Regions from separate parts of the Homo sapiens genome. Here regions 2, 3, 4, 5, 6 and 7 are each linked to region 1. Evidence: promoter capture Hi-C in human tissues and cell types (Jung and others, 2019). All regions are on one chromosome and are shown on one strand. Each heading gives the region's core, a stretch centred on a gene start or on the middle of the fragment in contact. The rest is flanking DNA. Distances are from core to core; before and after follow the strand shown. Region 1 holds the start of TDRD9 (tudor domain containing 9). Region 2 overlaps KLC1 (kinesin light chain 1). Region 3 overlaps ZFYVE21 (zinc finger FYVE-type containing 21). Region 4 overlaps PPP1R13B (protein phosphatase 1 regulatory subunit 13B). Region 5 overlaps PPP1R13B (protein phosphatase 1 regulatory subunit 13B). Region 6 overlaps PPP1R13B (protein phosphatase 1 regulatory subunit 13B). Region 7 holds the start of LOC124900347 (small nucleolar RNA SNORD51).

Evidence for each region. The method cuts DNA at HindIII sites, captures the fragments that hold promoters and counts their contacts. A contact is called where the count stands out against the background at its distance.
Region 2: a contact is called between a fragment that was not itself captured here and the fragment with the promoter of TDRD9 in region 1, in 2 of the 25 tissues and cell types used here (mesenchymal stem cells and thymus).
Region 3: a fragment that was not itself captured here is called in contact with the fragment with the promoter of TDRD9 in region 1 in 3 of the 25 tissues and cell types used here (IMR-90 fibroblasts, dorsolateral prefrontal cortex and hippocampus).
Region 4: a fragment that was not itself captured here is called in contact with the fragment with the promoter of TDRD9 in region 1 in 5 of the 25 tissues and cell types used here (H1 embryonic stem cells, dorsolateral prefrontal cortex, heart right ventricle and 2 more).
Region 5: a fragment that was not itself captured here is called in contact with the fragment with the promoter of TDRD9 in region 1 in 2 of the 25 tissues and cell types used here (dorsolateral prefrontal cortex and spleen).
Region 6: a fragment that was not itself captured here is called in contact with the fragment with the promoter of TDRD9 in region 1 in 12 of the 25 tissues and cell types used here (IMR-90 fibroblasts, bladder, dorsolateral prefrontal cortex and 9 more).
Region 7: a contact is called between a fragment that was not itself captured here and the fragment with the promoter of TDRD9 in region 1, in 1 of the 25 tissues and cell types used here (lymphoblastoid cells).

What each region holds. Positions count from the first base shown.
Region 1 is chr14:103,926,496-103,930,758 of GRCh38, reverse strand. It overlaps TDRD9 (tudor domain containing 9), which reads right to left and starts at 2,303. Exons shown (of 36, transcript NM_153046.3): 1 at 2,035-2,303. The coding sequence starts at 2,249. The HindIII fragment of the contact is 10,851 bases long and covers 1-4,263 here.
Region 2 is chr14:103,693,073-103,697,335 of GRCh38, reverse strand. The region is part of intron 15 of KLC1 (kinesin light chain 1); the gene reads right to left. Among named protein-coding and RNA genes, the nearest start is that of XRCC3, 20 kb to the left of the region's middle. The HindIII fragment of the contact is 3,456 bases long and covers 215-3,670 here.
Region 3 is chr14:103,717,512-103,721,774 of GRCh38, reverse strand. The region is part of intron 1 of ZFYVE21 (zinc finger FYVE-type containing 21); the gene reads right to left. Among named protein-coding and RNA genes, the nearest start is that of ZFYVE21, 3.8 kb to the right of the region's middle. RefSeq lists enhancers at 1-473, 3,091-3,601. The HindIII fragment of the contact is 3,090 bases long and covers 884-3,973 here.
Region 4 is chr14:103,735,185-103,739,447 of GRCh38, reverse strand. It overlaps PPP1R13B (protein phosphatase 1 regulatory subunit 13B), which reads left to right. Exons shown (of 17, transcript NM_015316.3): 13 at 425-562; 14 at 636-769; 15 at 1,588-1,754; 16 at 3,246-3,445; 17 at 4,253-4,263. Among named protein-coding and RNA genes, the nearest start is that of ZFYVE21, 22 kb to the right of the region's middle. The HindIII fragment of the contact is 7,486 bases long and covers 1-4,263 here.
Region 5 is chr14:103,752,631-103,756,893 of GRCh38, reverse strand. PPP1R13B (protein phosphatase 1 regulatory subunit 13B) reads left to right here. Exons shown (of 17, transcript NM_015316.3): 6 at 2,650-2,824; 7 at 3,698-3,894. Among named protein-coding and RNA genes, the nearest start is that of ZFYVE21, 39 kb to the right of the region's middle. The HindIII fragment of the contact is 9,352 bases long and covers 1-4,263 here.
Region 6 is chr14:103,774,722-103,778,984 of GRCh38, reverse strand. PPP1R13B (protein phosphatase 1 regulatory subunit 13B) reads left to right here. Exons shown (of 17, transcript NM_015316.3): 4 at 164-240. Among named protein-coding and RNA genes, the nearest start is that of ZFYVE21, 61 kb to the right of the region's middle. The HindIII fragment of the contact is 5,946 bases long and covers 1-4,263 here.
Region 7 is chr14:103,795,725-103,799,987 of GRCh38, reverse strand. It overlaps PPP1R13B (protein phosphatase 1 regulatory subunit 13B), which reads left to right. Exons shown (of 17, transcript NM_015316.3): 2 at 2,470-2,617. It overlaps LOC124900347 (small nucleolar RNA SNORD51), which reads left to right and starts at 2,640; the gene lies at 2,640-2,716. The HindIII fragment of the contact is 5,242 bases long and covers 1-4,263 here.

The DNA of each region.
Region 1 (4,263 bases), core at 1,054-3,553:
ATGGACCATTAAGTAGGGGAGGCGGCCCACAGGATCATTTACCAGAGTAGCTCAAGGAAGTAAAGTGTGCAAACATACAAACAGCAACTCCAAAGTTGCACAAGGGGTCTCTCGGTCCCCCCTATGCCTCTAAGAACCAAATTTACCAAAGATCCCAAAGGTGTACTTGAAAGAACTCTACAAAGGCTTGAAGCAACCCACGAAAGCTTGACCCAGAGTCTGGGCCTATCCATCAAATCAGACAAGACTAACAAACAAGAGTAACTTTAAAAAAGAAAAATAAAGCCAGGCACGGTGACTCACACCTGGAATCCCAGCACTTTGGGAGGCCGACATGGGTGGACCACAAGGTCAGACCGACCTGGCCAACAAGGTGAAATGCTGTCTCTACTAAAAATACAAAATAAGCTGGGCGTGGTGGCACACGCCAGTAATCCCAGCTACTCGGGAGGCCAAGGCAGGAGAATCGCTTGAACCCAGGAGGCGGAGGTTTGTGGTGAGCCAACATTGCGCCACTGCACTCCAGCCTGGGCAACAAGAGCGAAACTATGTCTCAAAAAAAAAAAACCAAGAAAAAGAAAAACAAAACCACCTTCTCAACTGTAAAGCGTGCTGGACTTGGGGACTGAGCAAGAGTGACGGAGATACTCCAAGCTGGAAGTACTTCTCCCAGGGCCTTTTTAAAGAGCGAGAAGAGGGAGCAGGTGTTTCTACTCACCAAATCTACGTCTTTCCTCTAAAAACAGAGGATATACTCTTGCTTTTTATTTCCACCCAAATCAAGTGAACAGAGTAACTGATGGTAGCTACTTAAAGAATAGTGAGATGAGGAGGGAGTCTGTGAAACTTAACAAAGATTCAGCATTTGCACTCCTTGGTATTTACCCAATGAGTTGAAAACTTATGTCCACACAAAAACCTTGCCAAAACTTGGAAGCAGGCCGGGCGCAGTGGCTCACGCCTGTAATCCCAGCACTTTGGGAGGCTGAGGTGGGCAGATCACCTGAGGTCAGGAGTTCTAGACTAGCCTGGCCAACATGGTGAAACCCTGTCTCTATTAAAAATACAAAAATTAGCCAGGCGTGGTGGCATATGCCTGTAGCCTCAGCTACTCGGGAGGCTGAGGCAGGAGAATCGCTTGAACCTAGGAGGGGGAGATTGCAGTGAGGCGAGATGGCGCCACTCCACTCCAGCCTGGGTAACAAAGTGAGACTCCATCTCGGGGGGTGGGGGGAGAACTTGGAAGCAACCAAGCTCTCCTTCAGTAGGTGAATGGAGATAAACTGTGGTACATCCAGACAGTGGAATATTAATCAGTGCTAAAAGGAAAGAAGCTATCAAACCATGGAAAGGCATGGAGGAACCCCCAAATGCATACTAATACTAAGTGACAGAAACCCATCAAAAAGGCTACACATACTGTGTGATTCCAACTAGATGACAGTATGGAAAAGCAAAATTATGGAGACAGTAAAAAAATCAGTGGTTTCCACGTGGTGTAGGGAAAGGGAGGCAGGAACAGTGGGGCCGAGAAGATCTGTAGGTCAGTGAACTCTGTAATGCGTGACGTTAGGCGTTTGTCCAAACCCACAGAACGTCCAGTACGAGGCGTGAACCCTCCTGTAACGATGGCCTCCGGGTGACGAAGACGCAGCGATGCAGGTTCGCCGACTGTCACAAATACCCACACCTTACGCAGATGCTCACAGGGGAAACTCTGGGAGGGAAGGGGCCTATGGGACCTCTGCCCTCCGCTCCGTTATCCTGAAAACCTGAGTGCCTCAAAAACTAGTCTGTTAAACATTAAGAACTGAAAAAAAAAAAAAAAAAAAAACCTCTAGCTCAGCTTCCTTACAGGCACCGCTCTGGGCCGCGCGTCGGGTTGTGTAGTGACCACTCGCCCTGGACGGTCAGGGGTCCCTGGAGCCCCGCGAGAGGGCACGGGCTCGCGAGAAGGATCTGGATGGCCCGTGCCCTCGTCGCCAGGCCTCGCCCGGCCGCCCTCCAGCCGCCTCCGCCCCGCCCGCGTCCTACCTTTCGAACGCAGCGGCCGGCCGGGCCGGAGCTTGGGCCAGAGCCGGAGCCTGGGCCGCGGGACCAGCGCCGGGGGCCACGTCCTGGCGCTGCACCTCCTCCCTGGCCGCCCCTGCCGGGAAGGCGGGCGGCGCGCCCAGCAGCTCCACATTGGTCACCGTCTTGCCGATGGTGAACCAGTCGTTGATCTGCTCGATGGTGAGCTTCCGCAGCATCCTCAAGGCCCAGGCGTCGGCATCCCCCAACTGCCGGGTCTCCGCGGCGGGAACAGGCGACGGCGGAAGCGCACCCTGGAAGCCCCGCCCCCGCTCGAGGCCTTCCAATCAGAACGCGCCGCGCGCCCTTGTGGGCGGGCTCCGGCCCGGGCGCGTGCTGCCCGCGCTGCCTGGTCCTCGTGCCGCCGGCCCCGCCCCGCCGCGCTAGGCCTGCCGGGAGCCGCCGCCCCGAGCGAGCCCAGGGTGAGCCTTTCTAGGACCTCAGGGGAAGCTTGAGCGCCGCGGCTGGCCCGGGAGTCTGTTTCACGGGAGTTCCGTGGCAACCCCTGTGTGTACAAGAAAATGCCCTCCGGTCACTCCCTGGCCTCTCTATTTAGAGGCTGCTGCCTCGGAGGTTTGTGCGCTTTGAGCGGACCGGGACCCTACATACGTTTCTTGAGCACCTCAGGGTGAGGAGATGGAAGGCAAACCAGAGAAGGGATTTGCGTTCGTGGGTCAGACGTACCAGGACATCCTTGCACCTAATATGGGGGGAGAGGGGCAAGAAGAAGGTCAGGAAGGTCTCGGAGAAAGTAACGCCAGGCAGACCCCTGCAGGATACGGGGGAATGCGCCAGACGGAGGACCACCCAGGGTTATAGGGGAGGGCAGGCGGCCCTGATGGCTGAGGTGAGGATCTGGGAGAAGTTCTTTGCAGCCGGATCATAACTGAATTCATCTTCCTTCCTAAACCGGTGTCTCAGGCGGCGGTGTCAGACTCACAGCTGGACACAAACAGGTGCGGACAGGAGGTCCAGGCGATCACATGGACCAAAGATACAGGCTGAGGTGGTCCCGGCCGAGCTCTAGAAGAGTGAGGGTGGAGAACAGAGCCCTAGCAAACTCCCCAAAAGAAGGAGCCGCGGGAAGAAATCAACAAAGGATGCACGGGAAGGCAGCCACGTGTGCAAGGGAAGGGAGGGTCAGAAGAGAGACATGGCCACCTGCCTGGGGTGTGTCCCCCTCACTGGCCAGGGCAGGATCTATCTGGCCCATGTGGGCTCTCAGGAAAGAGCCATGTGAACAAATACAGAGACGGTATCGAGAGCATGGCTCTAATCAGCAGTGTAAAGCCCAAGCAGTGGCAAATAAGAGGGCGGTTTGAAAACACTGTAGACAGAAATCAGGCAGGTAGGTTGAGCTATTGGTGTCTCAAAAATTGAACCCATAATCATACTAAGCCAGGAGTTCTGGCTCCAAATCCTGGCATAATGAGCTCTAGACCTCATATTAGGACTCTGCCAAATACGACAGGTTCCCAAAAGTGCCTCAACACACTTTGCCAGGAAGAAATAACTTGCTTTTCTTTTTTCTTTTGAGGCAGGGTCTCACTCCTGTCGCTGAGGCTGGAGTGCCGTGCTGCAATCAGGGCTCACTGCAGCCTCAACTTCGGGGGCTCAGGTGATGCTCCCACCACAACCTCCTGCATAGCTGGAACTACAGGCTCACGCCACCACCACACCGGCTAATTTTTTATATTTTTAGTACAGACAGGGGTTTCGCTGTGTTGCCCAGGCCAGTCTCAAGCTCCTGGGCTCAAGCAATCTGTTTGGGAGCCCTTGGCCTCCCAAAGTGTTGAGACTACAAGCATGAACCACCATGCCCAGTCATGTTTTTCAAAAAATAAGAAAAAAGGTAATCATAAAGTAATTGAGACTCATGGTATGTCATTCAGCATTGATTGGAAAATATTGTAACTTCACACTGTATGTGGAGGCTAGGACATAATTCAAAATTTTACAAAATATATTGAAACCACTTGAAGCAACTCCAGAACTCACACTTGTTTTGTTTTGTTTTTTGTTGTTGTTTTGAGACGGAGTCTTGCTCTGTCACCAGGCTGGAGTGCAGTGGCGCGATAGCTCACTGCAACCTCTGCCTCCCAGGTTCAAGCAATTCTCCTGCCTCATCCTCCGGAGTAGCTGGGACTACAAGCATGCACCACCATGGCTGGCTAATTTTTTGTATTTTAGTAG
Region 2 (4,263 bases), core at 693-3,192, 230 kb after region 1:
CCATACTGTGCAGAATTTTTCTGTTTGCCGTTTTCCAGGGTGGGACAATCCGTTTAAACCTTCATCATGTTATCAAGGCTCTCTATGACCCTAAAGTTAAGAATCACTGGCATGAACATGGGAAAAAGTTATTTTGGGGTTGGATTTTTACAAAACAGCCTTTCTGCAAAAGTGCAGGAATTCTACAATGGCAAGTAAGACATTTTATTTCTGTAATTGAACATAAGCAATTCCAAATGCTTTTCTAGGCAAGACATGCCAGCGATTAGAAAATGAGACAGCTTAAAGACAGAGGTACATTTAACAGAGAAAACACGCCTGGAAGCTCGGCCGGCCCCGCCCATGCTGGCTCAGTTCCTGCCCCTGGAGGGAAGGGGCCGAGGGGCTTCCCGTCCCAGGGAACTCCCACCACAGGAGTCTGCAGACGGGCTGGCCTGGCAGTCAGTCCCAGAACACTGACCATCCCCTTAGGGAGGCACCACGCCCTGGGGAGCACAGTTCCAGGCCAGGGCCATGGGTCTTGCCCTGAAGACCCTCCCTCAGGGACCACGCGCCCTGACCCTCATTGCCTCACCATATTATAAAACACTAAAACCGCTTAAGTTCTTCCCCACAGAGTTGGGGAACTAATTGTAAACAGAATACACGTCTACATATCAGCCCTGAGACAGCTGGCCCCGCTGCACACGCAGCCTGCTGGCCCCAGCAAGACACGGTCAGAGCTGGTAAGTGCTCTACAGCATTCAGAAATCTGACCACAGCGTACACACAGCTCACAAGTCAGTGCAAACAGAAGCTAATGACATCCTCCAAGAAAATTCCATACAGTTATGACAATGGAAAACCTGTTATACATTGTAACGATACATCATTAGCAATGTTTAATACATCTTACTATAAACACTGAATTTCTAAGTACATGATACTCCTAGCAGCTTAATCCAGAAAACAACGATGTGAATCCCTCCAATACTGTAAACACAAGACCAAGTGCTGCCCATGAGAGTGCCCCGTGCCACCCGCGGGCACCACCGGCCTCTGAGGACCCCTGAGCCACACACTGCTGCTGCTTCAGGGAAGCATCCATGTCACAGGACTTCCCCAGGGGCCTGATTTCTGCCACAGCTGCACCAACTACCCAGAGATATGCTGTCCGCCCACAGATCCAGACGCTCCCATGCCATGGTTGCTGGGGACGGGCGCTGCACACACGGCTGCTGTGGGGGGGGGCGGGGGGCGGGGGCGCAGTGATTATTTTGACAGCAACTCTGAAGAAACAGGTGCTGACTCTCGCGTGGGGTTCCTCTCACCAGAACGACCACACACAGGAGGAGGGATGCCTGGGCCCACCACTTCTCTCCTCTGAAGGGAAAAATTCAGACCGCCAGATGGGAAATGGCTGAAATCACCGCACTTCTATTGGGTGGAAGGGTTCAAACATCGGGGACTCAGGTACTCAGATTCCCTTGCCGCCTCCCTCTGAAACACGAACCTTCCTTTATGAGCTGGCTTCAGGGAGGCCCCCTGGCTTCTCTTACCCCAACACACAGTGCTCCCACAGCCACAGTGCTGCAGAGGCCACCTCGGCCCTAAAGTCCCATGGCTGGAAGCCACAGCAGGCTCCACAGAGGCCCCACACAACCTCGTCTGCACCCATCAGTCTGAAGAGGTTAAAATTCAACTCCATATTCAGCCCTATGTTTATTCCTTCTAAATGCCCTTTTTCCTTTCCAGATAACTGTCACTAAGGGAAACTGTCTGGGTTCCAAACTCTGCTCAGCATCCTCACAGGGAGAAGGCACCCCCACCACAAGGGAAGCTCCGGAGCCCTCCTCCCTGTCGCCTGTGCACAGACATAGCCCACTACGGGGGCAGCCACGGCACCTGTCAGGGGAAGCTGCTCTACACCCCCCTTTTTTTGGGGGGGGTTGGCTTCTCACAACCCATCAAATTATATATGTATATATATGTATGTATATATATATATATATATATACACACACACACATATATATATATATACACATGGTTTTTTTTGCTAGACACAGGGACTCGCTGTGTTGCCCAAGCTGTTCTTGAACTGGGCTCAAGTGATCCTCCCGCCTCAGCCTCCCAAAGTGCTAAGATTATAGGATTACTGGCATGAACCACCGCACCCAGCCATATATATATATATAATTTAACATTTTTTCTTTTAATCCCATCCACTATTACAGAACCTATGAAATTTTCTTCAACACCTCTATGTAGCATTTAGAATGTAAGCTCCTGATCCACCAGAATCTGCAAGAATGGAGTCAGGAGCCTCAGAAAAGGAGCCACGGCCACAGGCGAGCAGCTCGGGGACAACGCTGGCTCCACAGGGCAGCTCCTGGGCCAGGCACCCGCTGGCGACTACACGGAGCTTGTCTTGTGGAAACAAACGCGCTTTCACAAACACAGCAGTCCTGCGACATGAGGCGGGATGAAACTTTGAAAGGTATTTTAAAGTCTAGCCTTGTAACAAAACCTCAGGACACTCTGTCCCCAGCCTTCGTGCCCCACGGGGAGCTTCTAGAGGCTGAAGGTGACAAGTGTGAGCCTCTGCTGTGCCACCACCCACCCTGTTACATGACAGTGGCAAGCTGAGCTTTCACGGGATGGCTGGTGTTTCACAGACCGCCCCTCCATCCCGTAGCCTAGTTGGCTGGCATGGAGGTGGCGCTGCTGAGCGTCAGCCTTTGGAATCACTGATCACCTCGGCGTCTGTTTTGTATGCTCTTTACCTATGGACTAGTTTGTGGACGGCTAAGAAATACAGCCTCAGCATTGATTTGAAAAGGTTCCTGTCAGAGTCCACCGTGCTCCCTCATTCCATAAAGCTTAAGCTTTTAAAAAGTGAAACGCCATGTTAGCCAGGATGGTCTCGATCTCCTGACCTTGTGATCCGCCTGGCGGGTGCCTGTAGTCCCAGCTACTCGGGAGGCTGAGGCAGGAGAATGGCGTGAACCCAGGAGGTGGAGCTTGCAGTGGGCCGAGATTGGGCCACTGCGCTCCAGCCTGGGCAACAGAGTTAGACTCCGTCTCAAAAAAAAAAAAAAAAAAAGTGAAACACACGTCTCTATGGGCTTCGTGTGCAGGGGCGTCCGGGAGAACACAGCTCAAAAGGGGGCATGGGGCCCCAGGGCCACAGGCATGGGGACCTTGGAAAGAGAGACCCGGAAGATGCTCCAGCTGGGAAGGAATTCACTTCCCACTGACCAGTGTCCGCTAAGCTTCAGGCTTTACTGCCATAGATCACTAAATGCCTATCGTTCTGAAAGGGGTACTTTATGTTTCCAGATTCTTAATTTACAGCCTTATTACAATATTACAATTTAAAAGAGAGTCTGGTGTCATGGCAAAAAGGTGGCAGGCAGGAAATGCAACAGCATCCGTGAGCAGGAGCCAATCCCCAGCGTGCTGAAGCCACCTCAGCGCCACCTCGGCCTCCCTGAGCCAGCCTGGCCGGGTCGCGGTCGGGGTGGCTCCTGGCACTGGGGCTGCAGGCCGAGTAACAGAATGCTGAGGCACGGCCTCCCGGGTGTTTTGAAAAGGCACCTCCAAGGTTGGTGGACGTCACTATCTAGGAAAGGAAGCCAAGGAGTGCGGCTGGCGCCTCCGGGCAGGGCGGTGAGGGGCGTGGCAGGGCGGGGCGGTCTCACACTCCCAAGACAGGTTACCTAGCCCTGCTGGCTCTCAGTGGGCCAGGTCAGTGTGGCTGGCACTCAGAGCTCGCGAGTCGGCCAGACAATTATTTCGTTCCTGCATGAAAAAACAAATAGAAAAATTACACTTAACCAGGACTTCAAATGATGCCAGCTTCAAATGGCCTCAGGCCTAACAGTACCAGCTGCACAGCTAAATCTAGGTTGGCACTCGAGAGGCCCAGGGGTCAATGTGCATGTAGAAACTCCAAGAAACTGGAGGGCAAACACTGGGTCAGCTACAGGACCCTGTAAAATGAAGAGACTTTCTTTCCTCTTGTCATTAGGGGTGCTTCAAGCAACATGTCCAGCACCCTACAAGCCTCTTTAACAGCCACCGAGAAGGGGGCTGGGGAAAAGCTTTCCCGAGATGGCTGCCTCCCAAGAGTGTTGGGGGACAGGTCGGGGCACTGGCCTGTCTGTGAGGATTAGTGGATCTGGACAACTGGGAGGGCAGTGCCTGGCCACTGTCGCGAACTCTCAGCACCAGCACAGGGGCAGGGACTGCCAAGTCCCAACAGCTCGAGCTGCCGGGTGG
Region 3 (4,263 bases), core at 1,179-3,678, 210 kb after region 1:
TGAATAAATAAATAATAAAGGTGTTTAGTGAGGGCCACGAGGCCAGAGGTGCAGGCTGTGACAAACACACAGAGATGAAGAGGGAGAGTGAGGCAAGGTCAGCTTGGGCAGTGCCCCTAATAACACCCATCTGCTGCCTGACCCTCTTGCCCAAGCCAAGCAGATAAACCCGCTAATGACAGACACTGCCCCCTAGGATGGACGGCGGGGCCCAAGTGCTCTCCAGGAGCCCTCTGTGCCCTGTGCAGTGGCGTCACAGAGGCAGCCTCGGCCCAGGCCTCTCTGGGGCGCCTGGCACTCACCTCCATGGGAGGCCTCCGTGGCCACCTTGCAGGGCCAATCACAGGCTCGGCGGGAAGCTATATGGACACAGAAGGAGCTGTCTCAAGGGAAGCGGGGCCAAGAGGGAGCGAGGATCAGGGCAGGTGCATGCAGACGGCTCCCAGTGAAATTTCGGAACACACTTCTCCTGGCTGCCTACAGGAGTCAGAGCCCTGGGCGCTTGTCCCCTCCTTGCTAGTCCAGTAAACCACAACTGACTTGCACCCACCCTGCCAGATGACATGCTCGGAGGCGGTCAAGGCAGATGCCATAAACTAGGCTTCCCGGTGGGTAAGCAAGATGGCCGCGAGCAATGAAAGAAGAAACCAGGTCAGGCGTGGTGGCCACACCTGTAATCCCAGCACTTCGGGAGGCTGAGGTGGGTGGACTGCTGGAGCTCAGGAGTTTCAGACCAGCCTGAGCAACATAGCACAACCCTGTCCCTACAAAATAAAACCTAAAAATTAGCTGGGCGTGGTGGCGGGTACCTATGGTCCCAGCTACTCGGGAGGCTGAGGCAGGAGAATGGCTTGAACCCGGGAGGTGAAGGCTGAAGTGAGCCGAGATCGCGCCACTGCACTCCAGCCTGGGTGACAGTGAGACTCCGTCTCAAACAAAACAAAAAACAGAAATCATGAAGCCCATCACTCCTCCACAGTGCGGCAGACACCAGCATGGAGCTCCTTAGAGACCTGCAGGTCGAGACCCGCTCCCCCACTCCAATGCAACAGGAACGGCCCCTCGAGGGTCACAGGGCAGCTCCTCAGAACCAGCACCCGGCCCACCCCAAAGAGTGGGGTTTGGCAGCACGCAAGAAACCAAAAGCGCCTCCATATAATCTGAAAGTATAGTTTAGGGAGTTTAAATGGATGTTCAAAAAAAGTTATAAAAAGAACCAAGTCTCAGGACACAGGCTGGACATGGACATAGGCCTGCCCTCCCTTTGAGGCTGGGGTGACAAAAAACATCAGGCCCCACCACGCACTCTGAGCTCCCACACTACAGTGAGAAGCGTCACCCACTGGCTGGTGGGGCTCCCACAGTCAACTAATTCTCAGCCCCCCAAGAACTCGCCAATCAAAAAACAATTTAAATGCATGTATCAATGCACCTTTATTGAAAGATAATCACGTTTAACTGGTAGAGCGTAACTCCTACAAACAGAAAAGGAACCCACGTCAAAGATTTACCTCATTAGTTAATGAGAGAACCAATAAGACTAAAAACCCAGTTCAAAGGAGAATCCAAAGAGCAGACATGGATACAGGCCGTGAGGAAGGAAGATATGAGTTGTAAACTGGCTCCTCTCACAGGGACCCCGCGGTGGGGTGTGTGAGAGAGGACATCAACTTCACCTCTGAGAGACAAAATCTACTTGCATCTCAGGGACTAGAAACACGTGCGTTACTATCAGTTTTCTACAATTTGAAGCTGTCAGACAGTTTGAAGACGGTGACAGGTGCAGACACTATGATCACAGCCTGGGAGGGTTATGCTACAGGCGGCCTGGCCTCCCACAGGACGCCCAGGAATCCTTTTTTGTGGCTTCAAAGTCTCAGTTTTACCTAACATCAGTAACAGCTCTCCAGCCTGGGTGACACAGCAACACCTTGTCTCAAAAAAGAAAAAGCTCTTAGCCAGCCACAGGGACCCTTGAGGAGCTCGCTGGTGTCCCTGGCAGTATCTCATGAGGCTGCTGGTTCCCAGAACACCTGTGGAGGCTCTGGCAGCCCCTGGCACCTCACAGGGGTGAGCTTTACCCAAGCGCTGAGATCCTGGAAACAATTATGAAACCCCCCACCCTGCAGTGTGCTGGGAAAGCCTTCCACCGAGAACCACCCTCCCCATACGAGCCAGAGGAGATCACAGATGCCCCCCTTGCTTACCTGCAGCAAGGCCCTCCAAATTCCCATTCTCTGCCTCAGAAAACACTGGCCATTTCTCCTCATGATCAACTGGAACACAATTCCCTTACCTGGACTTTTTTTTTTTTTTTTTTGAGACAGAGTCTTGCTCTGTCACCCAGGCTGAAGTGCAGTGGCACAATCTTGGCTCATTGCAACCTCCTCTTCCCGGTTCAAGTGATTCTCCTGCCTCAGCCTCCTGAGCTGGGATACAGGCACACACCACCACGCCCGACTAATTTTTGAATTTTTATTATTTATTTATTTATTTTGAGACGGAGTCTCGCTTGGTCGCCCAGGCTGGAGTGCAGCTGCACGATCTCAGCTCACTGCAACCTCCACTTCCTGGGTTCAAGTGATTCTCCTGTCTCAGCCTCCCAAGTAGCTGGAATTACAGGCACTCATCACCACGCCCAGCTAATTTTTGTATTCTGGCCTCAGCTCTCTGATCTGCTGGAGGTCCTGACCCTCCACTGGCCCATCCCACCTCCCCAGCTTGATTCTTTCTAGCCTTGGCCACTCCTCCCTGCAAAAGAAAAGCCCTGTCCGGCCTGGCCTGTGAGACCCTCGCAGAACTCAGGGTCCCCTGTTCTCCCCGCTGCACAGCTCCAGACGCCTCTAGCAACAGTCCTCACTTCAGATCTCTCCTCATCCGAGTCCAGGCTCGTGATCAGACGCGCACGTGCTCTCTCCTTCCTGGCTCTGAATCTAGAGTATCCATCAAAGTGTCAACCCGCCAGCATGGAGCTGCGGTCATTCTTCTGCCAGCACCACGGATGGGAGGTGGGAGGGGTGCACAGCGGCAAGGATTTTAAGGATAAAACTCAGGATCTCAGCTGCTTGTGACAAGCCCAGATGGCTGCACGCCCGGACCGCCCACCCCCAAGCCCACTGCCTTGCGTCAGTGTCGGATATTTGATGGCAGAGTCAGACAAGCCCCAGAGATCATCTGAAGCTTCCTTCACACCCCCAAAGCACCTCTATCCAAAGTGGTGTCGCACGAAGCTTTACACGCCGCCTCTGCCTCCCCTGCCCCACAGGTTCCTGAGGAGGCACAGACTGGAGAAACGATTCTCAACTGGTTCTGCGTCAGAGCCTTGAGAATCTGAGAGCTGCAGGCCACCTCTCGGAGAAAGGTGCATGTGTGCACATGCTCCCCAGGGGGTTTTGCAGCATTTTAAAGGGATAACCCTCATGGGCCCAAACTGATAAACCAGCCCGGTCAGGCAGCTGGTATTCGGGAGACGGGCACTGGGCTGGATTCAGACTCCCCTGGCTAAGAACAGAGCTGGAATGAAAATGGACCAACACGTTTACAGATATGACGATGATGCCGATCGGCACACGGCCACCAAGCCAAGGACAATGTTACCCACCTGCCAAGTTCTACCAAATTCTCCTCTCCCCATTCCAAACCACCTCAAATAAACCTATTTCCCACAACTGGTTATCTGCACATTTGAGTCACCTCCCGACAATCACCTTAGCGGCCCCAAGCACGCAGCCAGCACAGTGTAGCTCAGTGTCCCCTTCAGCATCACCACATGCCAGGCGACTGTTACCGTACATGTCCCCTCGAGCTATTGCACCTAAAGCTGGACTTTATTCCAAATCTTCCAGCCCTTACTGCCCCGTTCTAAGTTCCTCCAGAACACTGTCTTTGGTCGTTTCTGGCCTGTAAGACCATGCTCCAATACAATTCACAACGCAAAACTCAGAGACAAAGTCCATCTTATTAGAATGGTTTCTCTGTCCCCCAAGCCCACCCAATGCTAGGACCTCCCTCAGCTGCTCAGATCCCAGTTAATCATCCAAACATGGTGGGGGGCTCTGGAGGGGTATCCTGCCACCACGCCAGCGTGGGAATGAATCTTCTCTTCCACGAGGGGTGCCACCTTGACTCAAGTGTTTCAACTCCACTCAGTCGGAAGTCACCGCGGGACTGCCACACAGTGCCTCAGCAGAGGCCACAAAGAAAGGCAGGGAAAAATGCTAAACAATTCAGCTGATACCAGAAGGGCTCTGGAAGAGAGAATGA
Region 4 (4,263 bases), core at 1,232-3,731, 190 kb after region 1:
GCGCCATCTCAGGGAACCCTCAGTGGGATTCTCTCCACTAGGATCTGGTGCCATAGCAGGAAGAACCCTGTCGCATGTGGGCAGGAACGAGCTGCTGGCTCCCATCAGCTACTTGGCAGTCACACGCCACCCTCCCTCCCACAGAGTCTTCCGAGGAGTGGCCAGAAGCTCAAACACAGCCGTGTCCCTCTGTGCGTGAGCCAGGGACTCAGGCCTCAGACAGGGCTCTCCCTTGTAGTGAGCAGAGTGGCCCTGGCCCTTATTTGAGGTGGTCACCTGGGCGCTGCTACTGCTACCACTCCAGGGCTGCTTCGCGGAGCCACTGTCTTTGGGCTTTAGCTCCCACCACTCCTTCCCAGCAGGCGTGGGTTCTTAGACTTCAGTGGACCACCTTTAACTGGAAAGCGTGCTTCCTTCCCAACAGAACAAGCGGACCAACTTGAAGAAGCCCAACTCGGAGCGGACGGGGCACGGGCTGAGAGTCCGGTTTAACCCCCTGGCACTGCTCCTAGACGCGTCTCTGGAAGGAGAGTTCGATCTGGTGCAGAGGATCATCTATGAGGTGAGCTGCAGCCGGGGACCAGTGCACGCTGCTGGGGGCGAGGGGATGGGCGCTCACAGGCCGTGTGTCCTAGGTGGAAGATCCCAGCAAGCCCAACGACGAAGGGATCACCCCACTGCACAACGCCGTCTGCGCCGGCCACCATCACATCGTGAAGTTCCTGCTGGATTTTGGTGTCAACGTGAATGCTGCTGATAGTGATGGATGGTGAGGCCCGTAGGAGTGTGGGGTGGACAGATTTACTTTCCCTGCTTTGCATAAGGAAAACAGGCGTGTTCTAGACAATTAGGAAGCACGGAAGAGAGAATTAGAGCAAGAACACCCATCATTTCATCCTTGAAAGACAGCTGTTGCCAGGGTTTCCTTGCCTTTTTTTCCAGCCTTTTCTCTTGATGATTTTGTTAAAAACGTGGCTGTGGTTATGCTCTTTCTGTGCCTCGTCATTAACATTGCAGTCTAAGCATTCTGTGAATCATTCCATCTTCCCCTTCTCATATGTTCCGTATGGACTCTTCACACTCTGTGCTCCGTGTGAAAAGCAGCCTCAGCATCCCCCTGGGTCAGGCATGTAGGTTGTCGCATTGTTCATTCCGTTTGCCTTCGGGAGCTCTGCTGCTGGGCGAGGCGTGTTGGTCTCCTGTGGGGGTTATTTTGAACTTTCAGACAGCTGACATTGTGCTGCATTTGAATCGTGGTAAAATACACATAACATAAAATTTCACATCTTAGCTATTTTTAAATGTGTGTTTCAGTGTGTTATGTACATTCACATCACCATGCAGTGTGGCGTGAACATCTGTGGATTGGCCATTTCTTAACCCATTCCCTGTGCCCCCTTTTCAAAATGTATGTATGGTCTGAAACAATTGGCTCATGGAAATCCTGCCTTTAAAGAAACAACACTGAGACTTGATGGCACAAAGGTGAACGCCTTCCGCGAGATTCCTTAGAGGGAAATCTCTGAGGGCCACGTCCTACAGGACAGGCAGTGCCAGGCCTGCACCTTCACCCACGCTCTATTCCAGGACGCCGCTGCACTGCGCTGCCTCTTGTAACAGCGTTCACCTCTGCAAACAGCTGGTGGAGAGTGGTGCCGCCATTTTTGCCTCAACCATAAGCGACATTGAAACTGCTGCAGACAAGTGTGAGGAGATGGAGGAAGGCTACATCCAGTGCTCCCAGTTTCTATATGGTACGCAGGGGAGGCCTGGGGCCACAGTGGTGCTGTCTGCTGTGGTACTGCCATGGCAACAGTCAGCCGGTGCCAGAGAAGCTTCAGCACAGCTTTCTGTTTGTTTTTTTTAAGACAGGAGACAAGGTCTCATTCTGTCACCCAGGCTGGAGTGCAATGTCGCAATCATGGCTCACTGCAGCCTCGACCTCCCGGGCTCAATTGATCCTCCCACTTCAGCCTCCCAAGTAGCTGGGACTACAGGCTTGTCCCACCACAGCCAGCTAATTTTTTGTACTTTTTTTTTTTTTTTGTAGAGACAGTGTTTCGCCATGTTGCCCAGGGTGGTCTCGAACTTCTGGGCTCCAGCGATCTGCCCACTTTCAGCCTCCTAAAGTGCTGGGATCACAGGTGTGAGCCACCGTGCCTGGCAGCACAGCATTCTCGAGCTGTTCCACCTTCTTCAGGGGCAGCCAGGATGTCTCACTCGAGTGAAGGTCACACTGCCCCTTGTTTTCATTCCTGAAAACATGTTTGAAAGTCCATGTTGTTAGAAGGATTCTGTGCCAGATTCCCAAGAAAACAAAATGACTTGGCTGTGCTTTGCATAGATGTTCTGTACCCTTGCTTCTGGAAGCAGGGCCAGCTCCTTTCCTGGGGTGGCCTGGGGCCCTGGCCATTCCCCGGAAACATTTGATGAATGAGGCTCATGTCCTAATTAAGCTGCTTTAGCCAGGGCCGCATTTTCCAAGAGCTGGAACATCTTCTCTATTCTGAGTATTAAACAGTCACAAGTCATTTATTCCACACATTACTTGAGAACATACTATGTGCCCTACACTGGACTCTAGGTTTGAAATTATCCATGAAAACAGCCATGTGATGCCCTCTTTGGCCCAAGCTCCCACAACAGAGCCAAGCAACAAACTCTCAGGCTGTGTGGCAGGGCTAGGGGAGGCACAGCAGCCCCCAGGTGAGTCCCGCCAGTGTGAGGAGGAGGCTGCCGTCACAGTGGCACCACCACAGGGAAGGGAAGCTCCCCATGGTCACCACAACTGGGTCTCAGAAGCAGAGTGTCCCACAGAAGGGCCCTTTCTTGGGAACCCACAAGTAGCTGCTCAGTCAGGGCTCAGTTGTGTGTAGTTTGTTCATTACCATCCAAGAGCAGTCACAGCTGCTCTAGCTAGTGACTTTAGAAATCTGTTCTGGCTGTGATTGCTAAGCGTCACCTTAAGAACAGCACACTCTTGCCCTGGGGCTCAGGAGCTCGTTTGTCCTGTCTGTCCTGCAGGACTTAGAAAGGGCCGGCAGCAGGAGCAGCAGCTGGGCCGGGCAGGGGAGGTATCGGGTGGGGGCCCTAGTCTTCAATAGTGTCTCATCTCCCTCGCTGGCCTCTGTGGGGCCTGCTGAGAGCAGCCTCGGCAGCAGCACGACTGTGTCCTGTTCCTCGAGCAGGGTCCCTTGCTGCAGGCCACCCTCTGCTGAGGCCTGACCATTGCTCTCTGGCTCCAGGGGTGCAGGAAAAGCTGGGTGTGATGAACAAAGGTGTGGCGTATGCTCTGTGGGACTACGAGGCCCAGAACAGTGACGAGCTGTCCTTCCACGAAGGGGACGCCCTCACCATCCTGAGGCGCAAGGACGAAAGCGAGACTGAGTGGTGGTGGGCTCGCCTTGGAGACCGGGAGGGCTATGTGCCCAAAAACCTGCTGGGGGTGAGCACTCAGGTTACTTACTGGGAAACTAGCTGCCCGTGTCTCTGTACAGCATGCGGTCCTATCCTGCTGTGGGGCTGGGGAGGGAGGCTTCGCTTCTCTGAGCCTCAGCAGCCCCCTCTGTAGAGGGGGAGGTGCCTACTTGGCAGAGCTGGCATGAGGCTCAGGCAGGGCCCCAGGAGGTTCCCCCAGCCATGCTTATGCCATGGAGGCCCGTGCGGAGGCTGAGTGCCCCAGTGAGGGGCCGCTCAATGAGCTCGGTTCATGATGAACTTCACCAAGTGGCCCGGCTCAGCCCACCCACACTTTCCCCAATCTAGAAATCTCTGCAGCCTAGAAATTTCTCCAGTGGAGGGAGAGGTGGGAACGTGCAGGCTGCTAGCTCTGTGTTGGACTTGTGATTCCCTCAGTCCTCTGGCAGAGGGAGCTGCCTCTGCTCTCTTTGTGCCCTGCAGAGCTGCCAGGGGCTTGCTGTTGAGCCAACGTTCTTGGCCAGGCAAACACAGCAGGGAGCCAGGCAGAGACCCTTGCCCAGGGGAGCTTATGACCTTGAGAGCCACAGGCAGTCACAAGTCTTTAGGTGGCATGAAGTGTTGTGAGAAAAATAGGATATTCTGGGGGTACAAGGCACATTTTAAAGAGGGCTGGGTGGGTCTCAGTGTAGAGGTGCAGCTGAGCGTAGGCCTGAGGGACAAGGGTGCTGCACGGCTGTCCAGGGTGGCTGAGGTGAGGAGCAGGGGTCGGGTCTGGCTGGCCCTGCTCCCTGTGTGTGGCTTCCTGTCCTGACGCGGCTCCGTTGCTTCCCAGCTGTATCCACG
Region 5 (4,263 bases), core at 576-3,075, 170 kb after region 1:
CCAGCTACTCGGGAGGCTCAGGCGGGAGAATGGTGTGAACCCAGGAGGCAGAGCTTGCAGTGAGCCGAGATTGTGCCACTGCACTCTAGCCTGAGCAACAGAGCGAGACTCCATCTCAAAAGAAAAAAAAAACAAAGAAATCGGGAAGAAAGGGTGCTTTTGTTATCTCCTTTTGCCTCTGGGTATGTTCTTGGCTGTGTCATTGGTATTAATGTTCAAGAAGAAAGCAGCAATCCGTGATGAAAACACTGATCAGGGCCACGAAGACAATGACAGGTGGTTAACGGGGCTTCCCCATGTGCTACTCTAGGCTGGACTTGTTTGGTTTATTACAGTGCGGAGTATAGATAATGCTTATTATATATACTGAGTTCTACACTGGTTATTGAAACTCGAATCTTTCTAAGTAATGGTTTAGTCATATTTAATTGAAACATCAGATGTATCACACATGCCTGCTGGAAATGATTCATGTTGTAAATGATCTTAAAATATTCTGAAACTGGCCGGGCGTGGTGGCTTATACCTGTAATCCCAGCACTTTGGGAGGCCGAGGCAGGTGGATCATCTGAGGTCAGGAGTTCGAGACCAGCCTGGCCAACATGGTGAAACCCTGTCTATACTAAAAATACAAAAATTAGCCAGATGTAGTGGCTAACGCCTGTAATCCCAGCCACTCAGGCTGAGCAGGAGAATCTCTTGAAGCCGGCGGTGGAGGTTGCAGTGAGCTGAGATCGCGCCATTGCACTGCAGCCTGGGTGACAGAGCAAGACTCTGTCTCAAAATGAAAAAAAAAAAGAAAAAAAAATTCCAAACTGGCTTTAAAGATAACATTTAAACATTACCAACTAGGTTCTTATTGCTTTCTTCTGTAGAGAGATTTTCTTTATGACTAAAATGTCCAATCTGATTTTTTAAAATTTATTGAATGACTGTATATACTTCATTGTACTATCCACTTTTATGTAAATAATAATTTGGGTTGGACTTGTTTTAAAAAGTTGTCTCAATATTTATTGGATTTATGAGAAAATGATTAAAAGTTAAGTTCAATTGGAAAGTACTTTATCCCATTAATAAGATTTCTAAGATAAAATATACATAGTATTATGTCATTGTAAAAATTTTCTAATTCTGCTTTTTATTTTTTTCCAAATATTGATCCAAGAGTATTGCTGTTCAAAATAGTTATAGATATTTTCAGTAATGTGAATCACAAGTTAATGCTACATCTTAAATATTTAAGCACATATTGTTTTACCTTAGAGTGTAGTATGTAGTGCCTTCATAATCACACCTTAAACCTCTCCCTATGTAGGTGTATTTTATGCATACATATGGGATCATGAATACTTAATGTTGACTCTTTAAGGTATGTTTTCACATTAATAGGGAAAACCCTATTGAAGAATGTTGCATATATTGTTATTTTTAGATTGTTCTGGTATTGTTTGACTCTAAAATGTTTCCTTATTGAAGAAAATAATCCTGAAGAAGCAGACACTTCCTTGATTGTTCAGTATCACAACAAATTGAAGATTTATCTCTTTACTGATCACCTTTATCTCTTTTCAGTGTAAAATTCTCTGCTGGTCAGTGTTCATTTCCTTTAGGAAATGAATTAGATTCTTGGAAGCCACTTTGTAGCAGCAGGAAATGTATTACTTGCACCAGGAAAGTAAGGCTCACTGGAACATCACGGATGTGATAGAGTGAAGAGGAGACTGTGTTAGTGCATGTTCTCCTGCTGGAAGGTTTTCTGCAGAAGCGCTTATATTAACTGGTGTAGATGAGTGTAATAAAACCCTCTCTCACCGGGCGCGGTGGCTCACGCCTGTAATCCCAGCACTTTGGGAGGCCGAGGCGGGTGGATCACGAGGTCAGGAGATCGAGACCATCCTGGCTAACACAGTGAAACCCTGTCTCTACTAAAAAAATACAAAAAAATTAGCTGGGCATGGTGGTGGGCGCCTGTAGTCCCAGCTACTCGGTAGACTGAGTCAGGAGAATGGTGTGAACCCGGGAGGCAGAGCTTGCAGTGAGCCGAGATCATGCCACTGCACTCCAGCCTGGGCAACAGAGCGAGACTCCGTCTCAAAAGAAAAAAAAAAGAAGAAAAAGAAAACCCTCTCTCTTAAAAATCCCGCAGCTCTTACTATTTCATACTTAGGTACGCCCAGTAATTTCAGTTTTTTATGGTCTGATATAAGATTCCTCTAGTGTTTTAGTATTCTTTAAGATGAGTGATACTGTAGAATACTCTCACATTTTTCTTTTTGAGTATATAAAAGTAATCATAAGTTTCAATTTTTTTTTTTTTTTTTTTTTTTTTGAGACTGAGTCTCACTCTGGCACCCAGGCTGGAGTGCAGTGGCACGATCTCAGCTCACTGCAACCTCCATCTCCTGGTTTCAAGCGATTCTTCTGCCTCAGCCTCCCAAGTAGCTGGGACTACAGGCGCACACCACGCCCAGTTACTTTGTGTATTTTTAGTAGAGACAGGGTTTCACCATGTTGGCCAGGCTGGTCTCGAACTCCTGACCTCAGGTGATCCACCTACCTCAGCCTCTCAAAGTGCTGGAATTACAGATGTGAGCCACCGCGCCCAGCCTTCAATTTTCAAAGTTACATTTTTCTTTCTTTTGTTAGGAACAGCGTTTACATTTTCTAAAGCAACAGGAGCGCCGTCAGCAGCAGTCTATTTCTGAAAATGAAAAGCTTCAGAAATTGAAAGAACGAGTTGAAGCCCAGGAGAACAAGCTGAAGAAAATTCGTGCAATGAGAGGACAAGTCGACTACAGCAAAATCATGAACGGCAATCTGTGTACGTGCCTGCAACACCCCCTCGACACCACTCTCACCAGGCCCAGATCCAGTGAAACATAGTCTAACTGCCTGACAATTCAGTCACAAATTCACAGGACTAAATAGCAAGCGTGCTCAAGTTTTGCTCTGTTATTTGCATCTAAAAGGATGGGTGGGTTAGGTTAAGTGATCTTAAAATTGTGTAGTCCCAGCTACTTGAGAGGCTGAGGTGGGAGGATTGCTTGAGCCTGGGAGGTCAAGGCTGCAGTAAGCCACGATCCGGCCAGTGCTCCCCAGCCTGAATGACAATGAGACCCTGTCTCAAAAAAAAATAAAAAGATCTCTTGCGGCCCTCAGACGCAGTAGAAAAATCCTCTTGTTACGTTGGTACCAGCGGCCCTTTGGATTAGGGTGGGGCGCTCCAAGACTTACTCATTCAGAGGGTCTGTTTTTCTTGAATAACTTAACTTGTATCCGTGCATTAAGATAAGTTATGCTGATGCTCACTTTTTTTCTGTATGAACTCTTATTTTATTCATTGGTTCAGTCTGTGCCTACTTTAAGTCACAGTGATGCACGAGAGAGGCTTGGATGGCCCTGCCTTCACAAAACCTTTGGTCTCAGAGATTTCTAAGTCACTTGAACAAACTAGCTTATGGACTGATTACCCTAAAGAATAGTCGGGAATTAATGCAAATATAATTGTTTGCTTTATGAGTAATCAGATACATGTGTCCCAAAGGCTTTTTGAAATGTGTTGTGGATTCTGCATATCACAGCTTTCTCCACGGTCTGGCACTAAATGATACTAGAATTAAGTTCAGTGTATAGAAATGAAAAAAAAAAAGGATCAACTAAATCTTTTATTCTTTTCTTGTGTGGTCAATTATAGCTGCTGAAATAGAAAGGTTCAGTGCCATGTTCCAGGAAAAGAAGCAGGAAGTACAGACTGCAATTTTAAGGGTTGATCAGCTTAGTCAGCAATTGGAAGATTTAAAGAAAGGAAAACTGAATGGGTTCCAGTCTTACAATGGCAAATTGACGGGACCAGCGGCGGTGGAGTTAAAAAGACTGTACCAAGAACTACAGGTAACTCCTGGGTCTGGCAATGGTTGTATTAAAACATTCTCATCTTTCTATCTTTCATTAGCATGGGTTGGAAACCTTAGGAAGTGGAAACAAATTAGTAGATTCTAATTTAATAATAGGCACAAGATATATTCAGTACAAAATAATTTTTTAAATGACTTGGGATAGGCCGGGTGCGGTAGCTCACGCCTATAATCCCAGCACTTTGGGAAGCCGAGGCGGGCAGATCACAAGATCAGGAGTTTGAGACCAGCCTGGCCAATATGGTGAAACCCCGTCTCTACTAAAAATAGAAAAATTAGCTGGGCGTGGTGGCGCATGCCCGTAGTCTCAGCCACTTGGGAGGCTGAGGCAGAAGAATCACTTGAA
Region 6 (4,263 bases), core at 1,032-3,531, 150 kb after region 1:
GATTAATTGTAAGACCATTTTTTCAACTGTACTAAAGTCTTGAATTTCTCAGCCTGGTATTTTACACTTGTGTTCAATAAATATTTGAATACATGAAGAAATGGGAGAATATTACTTTTTTCTAATACGCCTTTTGGTGAGTTTGGTTCTTTTATTTCTTTAGGTGGCCGTCAGACCCAAGAGCAACGAACTCAGAGAAATGTAATAAATGTACCTGGAGAAAAACGTACTGAAAATGGGGTAAGTGACAGTGAATTAAATTGAATTTTAAAAATTGATGGCTAGGTGCAGTGGGTTACACCTGTAATCTCAGCACTTTGGGAGGCCAAGGTGGGAGGATCACATGAGGGCAGGAGTTTGAGATCAGCTGGAGCAAGATGGTGAGACCCTCTGTCTATAAAAGGTTTTAAAAAATTAATCAGATGAGGCCAGGTGTGTGGCTCACACATGTAATCCTAGCACTTTGGGAGACTGAGGCGCACAGATCACGAGGTCAGGAGTTGAGACCAGCTTGGCCAATCTGGTGAAACCCCGTCTCTACAAAAAAATACAAAAATTAGCCAGGCATGGTGGCATGCGCCTGTAGTCCCAGCTACTCGGGAGGCTGAGGCAGGAGAATTGCTGGAACCCGGGAGGCAGAGGTTGCAGTGAGCCAAGATCGCACCACTGTACTCCAGCTTGGGCAATAGAGACTCCGTGTCAAAAAAAAAAAAAAAAAAAAGTCAGATGTGGCCAGGCGTGGTGGCTCATGCCTGTAAATCCCAGCATTTTGGGAGGCCGAGGCGGGCAGATCCCCTGAGGTCAGGAGTTCAAGACCAGGCTGGCCAATATGGTGAAACCCTGTTTCTACTAAAAATACAAAAAAATTAGCTGGGCGTGGTGGTGGGCGCCTGTAATCCCAGCTACTCAGGAGGCTGAGGCAGGAGAATCGCTTGAACCCAGGAGGCAGAGGTTGGAGTGAGCCAAGATCGCACCATTGCACTCCAGCCTGGGCAACGAGCGAAATTCCATCTCAAAAAAAAAAAAGTCAGATGTGGTAGCATCTGCCTGTAGTCCCAGCTACTCAGGAGGCTGAGGCGGGATGATGACTTGAGCCCAGGAGTTTGAGGCTGCCATGAGTCATGATTATACCACTGCACTTCAGCCTTGTCAACAGAGTAAGACCCTGTTTTTTTTTTTTTTTTAATTGCTTTTTACCGGTAGTAATGAGTTTGGGTGATAACTTATTTTTAAATAATTATTTTGGGGGTAGATATTGTCATTTCTATTGAATATTTCAAAATATTATATGAAATTATAAAGCAGCAGTCACTGAGTGGTGTTACCTATTCACATAATGGTCCATGAATCAGATCATGTCTCCTTTGGAGCAGCCCTCCACCTGCCCTTCACATGCTGCTGCCATGTCCTCTCCTGGAGCAGGCAGTGGGTGCCTCTGTGCACGTAAACACAGCATCTCTGTGGCGGCAGATGGGCTATGGGCTTAGCTTGTAGACTAAGAGTTGAGTAGGCTGACTTGCTTTGCATCTTCAGTGTTGGTTCTGGATCCTCTGTCAGGTTTTGACAGACACAATGGATGGTGGGCTGCAGTGTCTTCCTCCATCATTGTGGTATAGACTTGGAGAATAGATGGAATGCTTATCATAGGTGAGGGGAGCTGTGGAGGAGCTCTTTGTAAGAAATGTTGGTGTTGGCTGGGCGTGGTGGCTCACACCTGTAATCCTGGCACTTTGGGAGGCCAAGGTCGGTGGATCACCTGAGGTCAGGAGTTCGAGACCAGTCTGACCAATATGGTGAAACCCTATCTCTACTAAAAATACAAAAATTAGCTGGTCGTGGTGGCATGCGCCTGTAGTCCCAGCTACTCAGGAGGCTGAGACAGGAGAATCACATGAACCCAGGAGGCAGAGGTTGCAATGAGCCGAGATCGTGCCACTGCACTCCAGCCTGGGCAAGAGAGTGAGACTCCATCTCAAAAAAAGCCGAAATGTTGGTGTATGTTGAAAGAATGAACCAAATAGGGACATTTTTAATGTGGTCTTTTCTGAAAATTTGAAGATAACTGTAACAAGTAATTTTAAGACTAGAGATTGAGTTTCTTTTTTTTTTTTTTGAGGCAGAGTCTCACTCTGTCGCCCAGGCTGGAGTGCAGTGGCCTGATCTGGGCTCACTGCAAGCTCCGCCTCCCGGATTCAAGCCATTCTCCTGCCTCAGCCTCCCCAGCAGCTGGGACTACAGGCGCACACCGCCACGCCCGGCTAATTTTTTGTATTTTTAATAGAGATGGGGTTTCACCGTGTTAGCCAAGATGGTCTCAATCTCCTGACCTTGTGATCCGCCCACCTTGGCCTCCCAAAGTTCTGGGATTACAGGCGTGAGCCATCGCGCCCAGCCTGATTGAGTTTCTTTTTCTGGCTGTAACACTAACTAGGCATCTAAGCTTAGGCAAGTTCCTTCCTCACACAGGGCTGGGCATGGTGAGATACTGGTAAAGTGCATGGAATCTAGAGTGTGACTGGCCCATGTTTAGCCCACTGGCCTCGGAGCTTTCTAATGAGCTGAATTTGAGCAAGTTATTTCACCTCTCTACTTCCCAACTTATTATTGAATTGCTAGTTCTTTTATTGGCTATATTTGTGACCCTACCTCATATACTTAAATCTCTGTTTATTTGTACTATCAACTTTAAACAGTATCTCTGGACCTTGCTCTTTGTAAAATGATAATATTAGGCCCCTGCCATCTTTCCTTCCTTCCTTCCTTCCTTCCTTCCTTCCTTCCTTCCTTCCTTCCTTCCTCCCTCCCTCCCTCCCTCCTTCCCTTCCTCCCTTCCTTCCTTCCTTCCAGCTCTTGCAGCTGTACCAGACTTTCATGTTGTAAAGGTTGACAATATTTGTATATTGTTATCTAACTATAAACCTTTTTTGCTTTGTCTGTAGATTGGTTATAAAGTTGAAAACCATTTAGCAGTTTCATTATTTTAGATTTTGCAGGTATTATCCACTGCAGAGCCATGTGGTATACTAGATTATATTTTCTTCTCTTTGGTTTCAATATCATAATCCTTCTGCCACTCAGGGAGAAATATTCCTGTTGTTAAGATTATAGATTCTCCCTCTTCACATTCCTGCCTTCTGTCATTGGAGTAGAGATTTGTCCACTGCAAATCAAGAGCCTCTACAGAGTTCTTCCAGGCGGATCTGCTTCAGGACGTCTTAAGAAATAGACGCACACACACCACTGGTAGAAATTTTCATTCAGTAAATCTGGAGTGGGGCCTAGAAAACTCCCCATGTGACTATGTTGCCATGCCAAGCTTGGGAACATCCAGGTTACACTTTAGCAAGCATTTATAGCTTGTTTGTCCAACAGAATGTTGAAGATCTTTTTGAGTTCTAAGATTTACCATGGGACGGGCGCGGTGGCTAGCTCCTGTAATCCCAGCACTTTGGGAGGCCAAGGTAGGCGGATCACCTGAGGTCAGGAGTTCTAGACCAATCTGGCCAACATGGTGAAACCCTCTCTCTACTAAAGATACAAAAATTAGCTGGGCATGATGGCAGGTGCCTGTAATCCCAGCTGTTCTGGAGGCTGAGGCAGGAGAATCGCCTGAACCCAGGAGACAGAGGTTGCAGTGAGCTGAGATTGCACCACTGCGCTCCAGCCTGGGTGACAGAGCGAGACTCTGTCTCCAAAAAAAAAAAAATAATAATAATAATAAGTGAAAGAAAGAAAGGAAGAAAGAATTACCATGACCTGAACTTCAGGGAAGATTAAATAGATACATTGAGTAGGCCGTGTGTTGAAGAAGTGAGGTGTGTTGTATATGATATAATATATGGAAGAGACTCAAAAGGAAAGCATTCCAAATGTATGATAAATTGGGTAGACCAGTTTTGATGTGATGAGACCTTTTCCTTGATGAAGTTTTTTCTTGTTAATAAGGAGATAATGTGTATATTTCAAGATCAACAAAATTGAAACCTGAAACCAAAGTGAAAAATGTGTTTTTATCCTTTATGTGGCTTGTAATTAGAGGAAGGTATGAGAGCTCCTCTAGAGGAATAATTTAGGATTGGAAGCATCACATCAAAGATGTTACTGTATTTTATGGCTTACACATCTACCTTTTAAGCTTAATAATACGTTACCTTCTAAAACACTTTATTGTCTACAGAGCGGTTTTACGTGCATTTTAAGATATGAAAAACATCTTCCCCCAAAATGTTTCTGTGTATACCTTGGTTATAGAATAATGACATG
Region 7 (4,263 bases), core at 1,213-3,712, 130 kb after region 1:
CTCATGCCTCCCGGGTTCAAGTGATCCTCCTGCCTCAGCCTCCTGAGTAGCTGGGACTGCAGGTGCGTGCCACCGCGCCTGGCTAATTTTTGTATTTCTTTTGTATCAGAGTTGGGGTTTCACCAAGTTGGCCAGGCTGGTCTTGAACTCCTGACCTCAGGTGATCCACCCACCTTGGCCTCCCAAATCTGGGATTATAGATGTGAGCCACCATGCCTAGCCTAATTTTTACTTTAGGTGTATTGTTTTTAAAGTATCTCTTTCATTGTTCCACTGAGGAAAAGGGGAAAAAAAAATTTCCTTCCAATATGATGTCTTAAGATGCTAGATCAAAGTGTTAGTATTTTTTTGAAATTAAAAAAAAAAAAAACAAAAAACCCGGCACAGTGGCTCACGCCTATAATCCCAGCACTTTGGGAGGCCAAGGCAGGCGGATTACTTGAGGTCAGGAGTTCCAGATCAGCCTGGTCAATGTGGCGAAACCCTGTGTCTACTAAAAATACAAAATAAGGCTGGGCGCAATGGCTGACGCCTGTAATCCCAGCATTTTGGGAGGCCAAGGCGGGCGGATCATGAGGTCAGGAGTTCAAGACCAGCCTGGCTAACACGGTGAAACCCCGTCTCTACTGAAAATACAAAAAATTAGCCGGGCGTAGTGACGTGCGCCTGTAGTCCCAGCTACTCGGGAGGCTGAGGCAGGAGAATGGCGTGAACCCAAGAGGCAGAGCTTGCAGAGAGCCGAGATTGCGCCACTGCACTCCAGCCTGCGTGACAGAGCGAGACTCCATCTCAAAAAAATAAATAAATAAAATAAAATAAAATTAGCTGGGCGTGGTGATATGCGCCTGTAATCCCAGCTACTCAGAAGGCCAAGGCAGGAAAATTGCTTGAACTGGGGAGGCAGAGGTTGCAGTGAACCAAGATCGCGACATTGCATTCCAGCCTGGGCGACAGAGTGGGACTCTGTCTCAAGAAAAACAAACAAACAAACAAAAAAACACCAGGTGTAGTGGCTCACATTTGTAATCCCAGCACTTTGGGAGGCCAAGGCGAGAGGATTGCTTGAACTCAGGAGTTTGAGACCAGCCTGGGCAGCATGGCAATACCCTGTCTCTACAGAAAATACAAAAATTAACTGGACGTGGTGGCACATGCCTGTAGTCCCAGCTACTTGGGAGGATCTCTGGAGTCTAGGAGGCAGAAGTTGCAGTGAGCTGAGATCACGCCACTGCACTCCAGCCTGGGTGACGGAGTGAGACCCTGTCTCAAAAAAATAAAATAAAGTAAGGCTAGACGATTTTTATTTTTTCAAATACACTATAATGTATTTTTATGTTTAAGGGTCATTTATTTTTCTTTTACTGTGATATATTAATACACTTTCCTGGCTAATTTCTTTAAAGGAATTGGATTTTTGGTCTTTCTGTTATCATTTTTTAGGAGCGCTTTATGTATTGAGGGGATTAGCTTTGTATTTGTAATATGAGTTGCAAATGTTTTCCCCTACCTTGTTTTTCTGGATTATAAGAGATTCTTGGCCGGGTGTGGTGGCTCACACCTGTAATCCCAGCACTTTGGGAGGCCGAGACGGGTGGATCACGAGGTCGGGAGATCGAGACCATCCTGGCTAACACGGTGAAACCCCGTATCTACTAAAAAATATAAAAAATTAGCCGGGCGTGGTGGCGGGCGCCTGTAGTCCCAGCTACTCTGGAGGCTGAGGCAAGAGAATGGCATGAACCCGGGAGGCAGAGCTTGCAGTGAGCCGAGATCGCGCCACTGCACTCCAGCCTGGGCGACAGAGCAAGACTCCATCTCAAAAAAAAAAAAAAAAAGAGATTATTATATTTAATGTACTTGAATATCAGTCTTTTTAAAAATAGTGTCTGATTTTTGAGTCATAGTTTGAAACAGCACCTTTATTCCAAAGCTATAAAAGGGAATATACCCAGGTTTTATTCTGGACTTTTTATGGCTTTAGGGTTTGTATCTAAATATTTGATCTATTAGGAACTTCTGCTAGTGTACGATATATGGTATGAAACCATTTTTTCCACATGGATATATTTTGCTCAAACATCACTCATTGTATAGTCGTTTTCCCTCCTTGATTTTTGAGATACCTCCCTCATCATTTGCCATTTTTTTCATAGGTAATTGGGTCTATTTCTGGGGTATGACTTTGCCCCATTGATCTATATATATATCTACTGCTGTCATGTTGTTTTGAGCACTTTATAAGATAGTGCTCTTTCTTTTCTATTACTCTCCTCATTTGGAATTTTCCTGACTTGTCTTTTTCATCTTTCTACATGAACTTTAGAATCAGCTTATCTATTATTATTTCCAGAAAATAATTCTGTAGGCATTTTGGGGGCGGGGGGTGGGTAGAGGGATCACTTTAAATTTACAGATTAATCTGTTTGTGATAAGGAATCTAAATTACAGCTTTACTCTTTTGTCTTACAGATGATATTAACTGTTTTCTTGAGCAACAATGAACAGATTTTAACAGAAGTTCCTATAACACCGGAAACAACCTGTCGAGATGTTGTAGAATTTTGCAAGGAACCTGGAGAAGGCAGCTGCCATTTAGCTGAAGTGTGGAGGGGAAATGGTATGTATTAGGTCCTGTAAAGATTGTTACATTGATAAAATCAAATCACCATCTTTTAGCTAAGCTTGTGCTGGATTTGCTTTTTTTCTGATAAAGATGGGGAAAAAAAGTAACTAAGTACATATAATTTAGTATTTATCAAATGGAAAATATTGCTTGTAGTTCTTAGTTATCTGTGGTAATAAAGAACTGAGTAATTAAAATAAATGTAATTATATTGCACAGGACTGAGTTTTACAAAATGCTTTTTTGTATACTTTTTTTTTTTTTTTTGAGACAGTATCTCACTCTGTCTCCCAGGCCAGAGTGATAGATGTTTGGGCTGTCTCTCTTTTTTTTTTTTTTGGCTATTATGAATAATGCTCCTATGAACTTTCATGTACAAACTGTTTTTGTTTTTGTTTTTTGTTTTCTGACATGGAGTCTTGGTCTCTCCCACAGGCTGGAGTGCAGTGGCATGCTCTTGGTTCACTGCAACCTCCGCCTCCTGGGTTCAAACGATTCTTGTGCCTCCGCCTCCCAGTAGCTGGGGCTATAGGCGCGCACCACCACGCCTGGCTAATTTTTTGTATTTTTAGTAGAATCGGGGTTTCACCATGTTGCCCAGGCTGGTCTTGAACTCCTGAGCTCAGGCAATCCACCCACCATGGCCTCCCAAAGTGCTTGGATTACAGGCATGAGCCACCGCACCTGACAATGTACAAGTTTTTGTGTGGACATATATTTTCATATCTCTTAGTAGTATAAACCTAGGAATCTCTGGGTCATATGGTAATTCGTGTTTAACCTTTTCAAGAACCACCAGACTGTTTTCTAATGCAATTGCTTCATTTTACATTCCCTGCAGCAGTATACGAAGTATACGATGTGGAGAATTTCTGCACATTCTCATCAACACTTGATACTGTCTGCTTGAGTTTAGCCATCCTAGTAGTTGTGAAGATATGTCTTATTGTGATTGTGATTTGCATTTCCCTAATGACTAATGATGGTGAAAATCTTTTCATGTGTATATTGGCCATTTTTATATCTTCTCTGGAGAAATGTCTATTCAGTTCCTTTGCCTATTTATTTATTTATTTATTTTTGAGACAGTGTCTTTCTCTGTTGCCCAGGCTGGAGAACAGTGGCACAATCCTGGCTCACTGCAACCTCTATCTTCTGGGCTCAAGCAGTGCTCCCACCTCAGCCTCTCGTGTAGCTGGGACTACAGGCATGCACCACCATGCCCGGCTAATTTTTGTAGAAACAGGGTTTTGCCATGTTGCCCAGGGTGGTCTCAAACTCCTGGGCTCAAGTGATCCACCTGCCTGGGCCTCCCAAAGTGCTGGGATTACAGGTGTGAACCACTGCACCCCACCCCATTGCCCATTTTAAAAATGGGTTATTTGTCTTTTTGTTACTGAATTGTAAAAGTTCTTTATGTATTCTAGATACAAGTCCCTTGTGGGTATATAAATTACAATTTTTTTGCAAGGTCTTGTGCTTTTTACTTAGAATTCAGAGTAAAGAATTTTAAGGATACATGGAGAGAAACTTGACTTTGATAAACATTGGACTATTACTAAATTAGAAGTAAAAGGACAGGCCCTCAATTGTTAGCCTAATGACAGCTACAGGAAGCAGGCAGTTAAGTAATTGTAATT